Linked DNA regions of Homo sapiens: regions 1 and 2 are each linked to region 3. The links are contacts of gene promoters, found by promoter capture Hi-C in blood cells and fetal thymus (Javierre and others, 2016). All regions are on one chromosome and are shown on one strand. Each heading gives the region's core, a stretch centred on a gene start or on the middle of the fragment in contact. The rest is flanking DNA. Distances are from core to core; before and after follow the strand shown.

The links. Contacts are between HindIII fragments. The CHiCAGO score rates a contact against its expected background, and 5 or more counts as called.
Region 1: a fragment that was not itself captured here is called in contact with the fragment with the promoter of TRIM56 in region 3 in 1 of 17 cell types (M0 macrophages); the score reaches 6.8 in M0 macrophages.
Region 2: a contact is called between the fragment with the promoter of ZNHIT1 here and the fragment with the promoter of TRIM56 in region 3, in 1 of 17 cell types (megakaryocytes). The highest score is 5.8, in megakaryocytes.

The regions. Positions count from the first base shown.
Region 1 is chr7:101,301,338-101,304,802 of GRCh38, reverse strand. LNCPRESS1 (lncRNA p53 regulated and ESC associated 1) reads right to left here. Exons shown (of 2, transcript NR_146480.1): 2 at 3,457-3,465. Among named protein-coding and RNA genes, the nearest start is that of LNCPRESS1, 3.5 kb to the right of the region's middle. RefSeq lists enhancers at 1,292-1,994, 1,995-2,696. The HindIII fragment of the contact is 3,228 bases long and covers 416-3,465 here.
Region 2 is chr7:101,216,905-101,220,301 of GRCh38, reverse strand. ZNHIT1 (zinc finger HIT-type containing 1) reads right to left here and starts at 2,137. Exons shown (of 5, transcript NM_006349.3): 1 at 2,085-2,137. The coding sequence starts at 2,106. It overlaps PLOD3 (procollagen-lysine,2-oxoglutarate 5-dioxygenase 3), which reads left to right and starts at 2,721. Exons shown (of 19, transcript NM_001084.5): 1 at 2,721-3,136. The coding sequence starts at 3,028. RefSeq lists enhancers at 1,790-2,331, 2,425-2,544, 3,093-3,397 and silencers at 2,645-2,924, 3,065-3,114, 3,175-3,294. The HindIII fragment of the contact is 814 bases long and covers 1,445-2,258 here.
Region 3 is chr7:101,083,411-101,086,855 of GRCh38, reverse strand. TRIM56 (tripartite motif containing 56) reads right to left here and starts at 1,375. Exons shown (of 3, transcript NM_030961.3): 1 at 1,285-1,375. RefSeq lists enhancers at 1,765-1,814, 2,518-3,018. The HindIII fragment of the contact is 9,878 bases long and covers 1-1,765 here.

The DNA.
Region 1 (3,465 bases), core at 780-3,279, 220 kb before region 3:
CATGGTGAAACCCCATCTCTACTAAAAATACAAAAATAAGCTGGGTGTGGTGGTACACGCCTGTAGTCCCAGCTACTCTGGAGGCTAAGGCAGGAGAATCTCTTGAACCTGGGAGACGGAGGTTGCAGTGAACCGAAATCATGCCACTGCACTCCAGCCTGGGCGACAGAGCAAGACTCAGTCTCATTAAAAAAAAAAAAAAAAAATCGACCTCATAAAATTGATCATCTCAAAAAGAAATTATTCTCATTTCACTTTAATGATTATCCAAGACCCCAGTATAAGAATTAACCCAGCAGATTTCGTTCACATTAATGGCCAGAGTATAATAACCCTTTAAATCTTTAAGAAACATGCTTCAGATTTCAAGTTTTGAGAGTCTTTCTTCTTCTTGTTCTAGTCTATCACTGAAGCTTTTGAGTTTACTTTGTATTTCATCCAGTGATTTCTTCAGCTTCAGAAGTGTCGTTAGGTTGTATTTAATAATATCACTGGAGTTGATAATTTTTTCCTGCAGTACGGTAACTCCTTCCATCTTTTTTCTCTGTTCTTTTCCAAATGATGCTTGTATTATGCCCACAACTGTATAATATGTATATTCAATTCTCTCTCCAAAATGTCTTCTGTTTCTTTTGGATGGGGATCTGCTGCTGGAGAATTACTGGGTTCCGTTGGAGGCGCCCCATTTCCTTGCTTTTTCATGTTTTCTGTGTCCTTCCGTTGAGATCTGTGCATCCTGTGAAAGTGGCTTCTTCCAAGTTTGTGAACTCGCTTTGTAGGGGAGGACTTCTTCCTGAAAATGTAGATAGGGTGTTGGTTAGCTGGGGCACTTTGGCTTTGATTTGGGGTAGTACTGTAGGCTCTGTATGATTTCTTGGGTGGCTTAGGGTGTGGTTATTAGTGGAGGCTGTGGTTGCTGGGGACTAGGCGGCCAGGTGGGCCAGTATTTGGGCCCCAGTGGTGGCCTGATCTTACCTATTCTTTAGTCCCAGAGCAGTGCATGCTGGCTCTGTTATTAGCGGGTTGTGGGGAGTGATTCGTGTGTCTCTAGGTGCCCTGCTCTAATGCTGGTAGTGGCAGCCACTGGCTGGGGGTGTGGCTGATCTCAGGCGTTGGGGCAGTGGGTGTGATGTGGGCAGGGTAGTTGCAGTTGGGGGGGCAACCCTCCGGAATCCAGGCGGTCCCTGCTGGTGTTGGTGGTGGCTGACCAGGTTGGGCGGGCACGCGAGTCCCCGGGCCTGTAGGTAGCCTGAGGTGTTATCCGCAGGCTGGGCCCCTGAACTCAGACACCGGGGAGGAGTGTTCAGCCGCCAACGGTGGCGGAAGAGGCAGAATAGTCACCAATCCCCAGGCCTCCGGCCCGCGTGCGCAAGTCCTCAGGAGGCAGAACCACCAGCGGACTGTCCTGAGGGCCCCGGGGTTCGGTCGCTGGCTAGGACGGACAGGGAAGGGCTGGTCCCCAGGAAAGCTCAGGCGGGGTAGAGCAGGCAAGCGGTTGGTTCGCGTCTGAGTCCCGCGGTGGCGGTGGGGTTATTAGTCTTTTCGGACGTATGAAAGCCTCTGGCCTCCCCGCTCCCTCCCTGGCCCTCAGCTGGGCGGCGGCGGCTGCAGCTGCAGCTGCTCAGGGCAGGGAAGCCCGTGGGCTCCACGTGGGCTCCTGCAACGCCGCTGGGGAATCTCTCGCCCGCTGCCCCCTACTCTGGAGGTCCACGAGGGTCAGGGGGCTGTGGAAGTCCGTGGGGGGACTGCGGAGCCCCCGGGGTCTCTCACTCACCCTTTCCCCGCGCGCAGGGGCTGCAGGCCGTCCTAGCCGATCCGATTTCTCCGCGCAGGCTGCCTGGGTGCCTCTGCTCCGCTCCTCGGGCTCCCAGTGGCTTCTCGGCTGAATCCCGCGTTCTCTTAGCCGATCGGCTGCAAGTGTGAAAACCTACCGGCGCCTTCGGTTCCCGCCAGAGGAGAGGCGCGTGCCGGCGGCATCCACCAGGCCATCTTGAGCCTATGGTCCTAGGTGGGAATGGGTCCCAAGTGCGCGAGTTACTCAAGGGCGTTCCCTGGAGGGTCCGGGTCGGCCCCGCCCTCCCCTTCCAGACTGGTCCGCAAGCTCCGTGTGCACACAGGTGTGTTTGCTAATATAAATAGACTATTTGGCCGGGCACGGTGGCTCACGCCTGTAATTCCAGCACTCTGGGAGGCCGAGGCGGGTGGATCACCTGAGGTAGGGAGTTCGAGACCAGCCTGGCCAACATGGGGAAACCCCGTCTCTACTAAAAATAAAAATATCAGCCGGGCGTGGTCGCGGGCGCCTGTAATCCCAGCTACTTGGGAGGCTGAGTAACGAGAATCGCTTGAACCCGGGAGGCGGATGTTGTAGTGAGCCAAGATCGCGCCACTGCACTCCTGCCTGGGCGACAAGAGCGAGACTCCATCTCACCAAAAAAAAAAAAATCCTTTACGTTGATGTATGCATTTTTGGATGCTTTTTTCTTTTAATTTTAATTTTTTTTTTTTTGAGATGGATTCTAACTCTGTCGCCCAGCCTGGAGTGCAGTGGCGAGATCTCGGCTCCTGCAAAGCAAAAACGCCGTCTCCAAAAAAAAAGAATGATGAATTAACATGCTAGGGTGTGCTTGGCAAAGTGTGGTTCACTCCTGCAATCACAGCACTTTGGGAGGCTGAGGCAGGCAGACCACTTTGAGTTCAGGAGTTCAAGACCAGACTAGGCAACATGGTGAAACCCTGTTTCTACAAAAAGGTTCAAAAATTAGCCAGGAGGCTGGGCATGGTGGCTCAGCCCCTGTAATCCCAGCACTCTGGGAGGCCCAGGCGGGAGGATCACCTGAGGTCAGGAGTTCAAGACCAGCCTGACCAACATTGGGAAACCCCATGTCTACTAGAAATACAAAAACTAGCTGGATGTGGTGGCGGGTGCCTGTAATCCCAGCTAATCTGGAGGCTGAGGCACGAACCTGGGAGGCGGAGGTTGCAGTGAGCCATGATCGTGCCATTGCACTCCAGCCTGAGCAACAAGAGCAAAGCTCCGACCAAAAAAAAAAAAAAAAAAAATTAGACAGGCCTCATGGCTCATGCCTGTAGTCCCAGCTACTTGGGAGACTGAGACTGGATAATTGCATGAGCTCGGAAAATGGAGGCTGCAGTGAAATTGCACTACTGCATTCCAGCCTGGGTACAGAAAGACCACATCTCTAAATAATAAATAAATAAATAATAAAATGCTACAGTGTTTGTCAGGTTTGCAGCGAGGAGGGCTGACATGTAGCTGTGTGGGCAATCTGTTAGAGAGAGTGGCTTTTCTTGACCATGACAATGTACTTCAGCTACATTCACCTGTTAGGATTACTGTGCCTACTGAATTCAGTACTGATCAGATTCAGTAACTGAATCAGATCATCTTTACCTAACTGCTGGATGATAACTAATCTTGCAAAATCGACCATCTCTAAGGGA
Region 2 (3,397 bases), core at 888-3,387, 130 kb before region 3:
AAAAAAATACAAAAATTAGCCAGGTGTAGTGGGACACACCTGTAGTCCCAGCTATTCAGGAGGCTGAGGCGCAAGGATTGCTTGAGCCCAGGAGCTCAAGGCTGCAGTGAGCTGTGTTTGTGCCACTGCACTCCAGCCTGGGTGACAGAGCAAGACCCTGTTTCAAAAAAAAAAAAAAAAAAAAAAAAACCCAAAACCAACCAAACAAAAAAAAATATGATTATGATCACTGTACTACTCTGTCTCCCCTCCAAATGCCAGGCAGTGCTCTAGGTTTTAGGGATGCCAAAGCTTACAGTCCAGTGGCAAACACAAATGATTAATGAAACAAACACAGTAAGTACAGCATGGAGTAGGCTAGGATACGGAAGTATAAAGTGCTGCAGAGCCCAGGACAGAAACACCCAACCTGGCCTTGGAGTAGTCAGGGAAGACTTCCCAGAAGAAGGTAAGTCTAGGTTAAGGCCTAACTGGTGAATGACCTGGCTAGGGGAGACAGCGGGGTATTTCAGACCTTGAGGCCAACATGAAAAAACTGATGGCTGGGAGACTGCGATGCCTTTGAAAAACTGAGAGGGCCAAGCGCAGTGGCTCATGCCTGTAATTCTAGCATTTTGGGGGGCCGAGGCGGGTGGATCACGAGGTCAGGAGATCAAGACCATCCTGGCTAACATGGTGAAACCCTGTCTCTACTAAAAATACAAAAGATAAGCTGGGTGTGGTGGCGGGCGCCTGTAGTCCCAGCTACTCCAGAAGCTGAGGCCAGAGAATGGTGTGAACCCGGGAGGCAGAGCTTGCAGTGAACCGAGATTGCGCCACTGCACTCCAGCCTGGGGGACAGAGCAAGACTCCGTCTCAAAAAGAAAAAAAAAGAAAGAAAGAAAAACTAAAAGGGCCAAGCGCAGTGGCTCATACTTGTAATCCTAGCATTTTGGAAGGCCGAGGCAGGAGGATCACATGAGCTCAGGAGTTCAAGACCAGCCTGGGCAACATAGTGAGACACCCATCTCAACAAAAAATATAAAAACTAGCCCAGCATGGTGGCCTGCACCCACCTGTAGTTCCACCTACTCAGGTGGCTGAGGTGGAAGAATCACTTGAGCATGGGAGGTTGAGGCTGCAGTGAGTTATATAGAACCACTGCATTCCAGCCTGGGTGACAGAGCAAGACTCTGTCTAAAAAAAAAAAGTCTTTGCTGGCTCTCCAGTGTTTCCCTACAGAGTTCAAACTCCTGGGCAGTGTGTATAATGCCTTTCAAAATGTAACCTTTCCCCAGCCTTCGATCCTTTCTTATTACTCTGTAAGATCCAAACTGTGAACTTGGCTTCCTAAGCGACTTGCTTTTTCTTGCTTCACTGCCTTTGCACGTGAGGTTCCCACTGAGAGAAACCCTAACTAGACTTTCAAGACTCAATTCAAGCTTTTTCATTTTTCCTTCAAGCTTTCACAGTCCCCTGCCTCCCAGAACCTGGGCTAGATGCCACGTCTCCCTGTTCCCAGGCGCTGTGCTTCCCTCTGCCATAGCACAAATCACAAATCACAGTAAAATACAGTGTTAGGTCTGCGTTTCTGCCCCCCTTCCAGAAAAAGCCAATGCTTGGATAAGAGGGGTCTTTCTCCTCTTCATCCCCAGCGCCCGGCTTGGAGCAGGCACCAATAAAACGTGAATGAAGGGTCAACGCCAGGACCCGAGGGCTGAGGAAGGGATTTACGAGGAATAGCTGGGGCCGGGCGCGGCAGCTCACGCCTGTAATCCCAGCACTTTGGAAGGCCCACGCAGGAGGATCGCTTTGAGGCCAAGAGTTGGAGACCAACCTGGGCAACATAGCGAGAGCCCGTCACCACATAACAAATTAAAAATTAACCAGGCGTGGGGCCTCATGCTTGCAGTTCCAGCCACTCCGGAGGCTGAGGTGGGAGGATGGTTTGATCCCAGGAAATCGAGGCTGCAGTGAGCTATGACTATGCCACTGCACTCCAGCCTAGGCGAAAGAGCGAGACCAAAAAAGAGGAATGACTAGGTAAGAAAATTCTAGGACTGACTTGGGAAGGGGAAGGGGGCGAACCGCGGGGGCTCACATACCCGAAGTTTTCTTCTCCACCATTGGCACAACACAACTGTCGGAAGAAACTGCTGCGCACGCGTACTAACCCCAAGGCTTTAGTAGGGGCGCCATCACTTCCGGTAGCTTGTACTTCTGCGCGTGCGCCACAGCTTTGACTCATTACGTGGCGTTTCCTTGGAGACAAGAAAGCTTTTCGCCATGTTTTATAGGGGCAAAACCACTTCCGGCCTCAGTGTGGAGGTGTAAATCTTGTGGGAGCCACGAAATGGGTCATTTTAAAGATGTGGTCACGGTGTTCTTACAAGAAATCTTATTTTCCTTTGGTCCTTGTGAAGATGCTGTGATCACAAAGGCAGCCCCTGGAGCTTCTCCGGGCAGAAGAGGAGGTGGGCTGGACTGTCAAAGAAAGTGGCTGGCTTCCGTGGGCAATCCGAGGTTCCTAGTGGCCCTCTGCAGAAAGCTGAACTCCCAGTTCCCCCAGGCCTCCGTCCCGCGGCGGACTCCTAGGCTTCCTCCCTCCCTGTCGCCGCCAGCCTCTCGCTCTCCCCGTCTTCCGCCCGCACTCTCTGGGCAGGGCTGCGGCCAGGACCCGCCCCCGCGTCCCGCCCGACCCTCCGCCAGGGGTCACTTCCCCTGTCCAGGTTTCAGCTTCCACATGTGTCAAGCGGCTGGCTCAGCCCAGAGTCCCTGTCTCCCGCCCGCCGGCCCGAGCCGCCGCCCCTCCCCCGCCTCCCGTGCGCCCGGGACAATCCTCGCCTTGTCTGTGGCGCCGGCATCTGGAGCTTTCTGTAGCCTCCGGATACGCCTTTTTTTCAGGGCGTAGCCCCAGCCAAGCTGCTCCCCGCGGCGGCCGCACAGCAGCCCGAGCGCCCCCTTTCCAGAGCTCCCCTCCGGAGCTGGGATCCAGGCGCGTAGCGGAGATCCCAGGATCCTGGGTGCTGTCTGGGCCCGCTCCCCACCATGACCTCCTCGGGGCCTGGACCCCGGTTCCTGCTGCTGCTGCCGCTGCTGCTGCCCCCTGCGGCCTCAGCCTCCGACCGGCCCCGGGGCCGAGACCCGGTCAACCCAGGTGAGATCCCGGGGAGGCCCGGCACGGCCGAGGGGGCAGAGGCTGGCGTGCCTGCCAGCCTGGCCCGGAGAGGGTCGGAGGCTCGAGGAGGTGTCTGGCCCGTCCCCCGCCCAGCGTGCTCTTGAGGCTGAGTCGCGCCAAGCCCCTCGCCCATCACTACCCTGAACTGGGGTTTCCAGCCTCCCTATGCAAAGGGACTCGGAATTCCTGGGCACCACTCCCACCCTGCCCTCCTTGGGGTCAGAGTGTTCCTGGGTGAGA
Region 3 (3,445 bases), core at 126-2,625:
CAGTAAGGACACAGACGGGGATCCCAGTGGGCAGAGATGCCTAGGTCCTGCCAGTTGGGGTAGGATCTTGCAGTAGCTTAGGGGGCTTTAATCCTCCAAGCCCCATACACCTGCCTTCTTTTTATTTTATTTTAGTTTTTAGCAATAGGGTCACCCTCTGTCACCCAGGCTGGAGTGCAGTGGCGTGATCGTAGTTCACTGCAGCCTCAAACTCCTAGACTCAAGTCTTTTGAGTAGTTGGGAGTACAGGCATGTGCCACCATGCCCAGCCTTTTTTTTTTTTTTTTTTTTTTTTGAGACAGAGTCTCACTCTGTTGCCCAGGCTGGAGTGCAGTGGTGCGATCTTGGCTCACTGCCACCTCCACCTGCCAGGTTCAAGTGATTCTCCTGCCTCAGCCTCCCGAGTAGCTGTGATTACAGGTGCGCACCATCACACCCGGCTAATTTTTGTATGTTTAGTAGAAATGGAGTTTGGCCCTATTGGCCAGGCTGGTCTTGAACTCCTGACCTCAGGTGATCCGCCCTCCTCGGTCTCCCAAAGTGCTGGGATTATAGGCGTGAGCCACCATGCCCAGGGGCCCAGCCAGCCCATTTTTTAAAAATTATCACTTTTTGTAGAGATGGGGTCTTGCTATGTTGCCCAGGCTGGTCTCCAACTCCTGGCCTCAGGCTATCCTCCCGTCTCGGCCTTCCCAAAGCATTAGGATTACAGGCATGAGCCACCGCACCCGCCTGGCCTTACACCTGTCTTCTGCTAGACCTGGGGCAGCATCGCGGGTGGTGGAGGCCCCACTTTCTGCATTTAACAGTTTCTAAAGCGGATTCTGGAGCGGGCAGAAAAAACGCTAGGGGAAGGGCTGGTCCCCTTCCCGCTGCTGGCTCACCCTCTGATAGACTTGGCCTTGGCTTATCTCCTGGAGTCCTGTTCTTTTAGCTTTTCCTGCTGAATGCATTCCAGAAACCTCTGGAGGGAGGGAGTCCCGAGCTCCTGGCACAGTGGCTGAGACCTACTTGTTGGGCAGACTAGGTGGAATGTCCCCTTTTCTGGAGCTGGGAGGAGACCTCAGAGAGTGGGACGGGGTCTTTCTTGCGGGGACCTGTGGCCACGGAGCGGGAGGGAGGCGAGTGCAGTTTCCCTCCTGCCCTCTCCTCCTGCCTTCCGGGTGCCTCTTCACGCCCTCCCTTTCCTTCCCTTCCTCCTCCTCCCGCGCTCTCTCTCCACTCCCCTCCCCCTACTCCCTCCGCTCGGTCCTTCCTATAGCTGTGCCGCCCCCCACCCCTTACCTAGCCAGAGCTGATCTTGACCTCTAGGATGGTGAGGGGGCCTGAGGCCTGGAGGCCGCCGTTGCTGGGTGCCTGGAAAAGAAACAAAACTGAAACTAATTGTACTTGTGGTGCAACTTCCGTCCCAGCCAGGGACACACCGACTCGCCTCGCACAGCCTCAGGCCCCGCCTTCCTCCCCACCCGGCCCCGTCCTCTCCCGCCAAGGCCCCCACCCCGGCAGGCAGCTGGCAGGCTTGGGCTGGAGTCCACCAGCCAGGTCGGCCTGTCAGTCCAGCCTCAGGGCTAAGTGTGTGTATGTCACAAACAGGGAACTACCTGAGGGCGGGTTCTCTGAGTAGAGGGTGGAGGGTCACAGGGTTTATTTGTGGGAAGAAATGAGAGCTCATCTGTGATTCAGAGACCAGGGTAACTAGACACATGGCCTCAGGGCGGGTCTGCAGATTTGCTAACACCTCAGGCAGGCAGGTGCCTGCAAAGCTTCAAGAGAGGCCTTTCATTCCATAAACCGTTGCTGAGCTGTAGGAGAGGCTGTGGGGGATCAGGTAAGAAGCCTCTTGCTGAGGGAACAGCACAGGCTTCCTGGAGAAGGCATCAATGAGATGAGTTTAAAGAAGGCGGGAGGATTGCTTCAGCCCAGGAGTTCAAGACCAGCTTGGGCAATATGGTGAGACCCAGTCTCCATAAAAAATTCGCTAGCCGTGCATGGTAGCGCATACCTGTAATCCCAGATACTCAGGAGACTGAGGCAGGAGAATCACTTGAACCTGGGAGGTCGAGGCTGCAGTGAGCCATGATGGTGACACTGCACTCCAGCCTGGATGACAGAGCAAGACCCTGTCTAAAAAATAAAACAGTAAGAGGGCATAGAGGGCTGGAGAACACTGAGAAGAATGTTCCTGTTCCAGGTACTGGGAGCAGCAAGGGTACATCCCCATTTAGGATGATGTGTGTGGAGAGGATACGAGAGTGTTGGCAGAGAAGCCTGCATTTTATCAAAAAAGACAAAAGAATCATTGCAGGAGATTTCCCTCAACATTTCATGAAAAAATAATTTTTATTTTGAGACAAAGCCTCGCTCTGTCGCCCAGGCTGGAGTGCAGTGGTGTGATCTTAGCTCACAGCAACCTCCGCTTCCCGGGTTCAAGCGATCCTCCTGCCTCAGCCTCCAAAGTAGCTGGGATTACGGGCACTCACTGCCACGCCCAGCTAATTTTTGTATTTTTAGTAGAGATGGGGTTTCACTATGTTGGCCAGGCTGGTCTCGAACTTCTGACCTCAAGTGATCCACCCACCTTGGCCTCCCAAAGTGCTGGGATTACAGGCGTGAGCCAACATGCACAGCCTCATTTTATGAAAAATTCAAAGCACAAAGAAGTTGAAAGAATTGCGGTGAACACCCATATCTCCACCACTTCTGTTCTACAATTATCATTTTACCGTAATTAATTCATGACATACCTATGCATGTTTGTACCTTTTTATCCACATGGCGGAATTTAAGTAGGAAACTGAAGCTGTAAGAGCTCACTCTGGCAGCAGCCGAGAGGACAGAAGGGAGCCTGACCTCAGGGTCCAGGTGAAAGGTGGAGGGGCTGAGACATAGATGCCAGAGAGGTAGGTGGAAATCCAAAAGAGAGAGGGTCACAGAGGCCAAGGCAGGAAATGCTGCACTTCTAGAAGGACGAGGGGGTCAGCACTGTTGAATGCTACCAACCAGACGGGCAACCAAGGTGAAGACAGAAAAACAGGCCAGGTGCAGTGGCTCACACCTGTAATCTCAGCACTTTGGGAGAATCACTTGAGGCCAGGAGTTCGAGACCAGCCTGGCCAACATGGCAAAACCTCGTCTCTACTAAAAAACAAAACAAAACAAAACAAAACCTAGCCTTCCTAGCTACTCGGTAGGCTGAGGCAGGAGAACTGCTTAAACCTGGGAGGCAGAGGTTGCAGCGAGCCTAGATCGCACCATTGCACTCCAGCCTGGGCAACAGAGTGAGACTCCATCTCAAAAAATATATATATTAGCTACCTGATGGCTCACACCTGAAGTCCCAGCTATTCAGGAGGCTGAAGCAGGAGGTTCGCTTGAGCCCAGGACTTCAAGGCTGCATGTGCCATGATCTATGCCACTGCACTCCAGCCTGGGTGACAGATCAAGA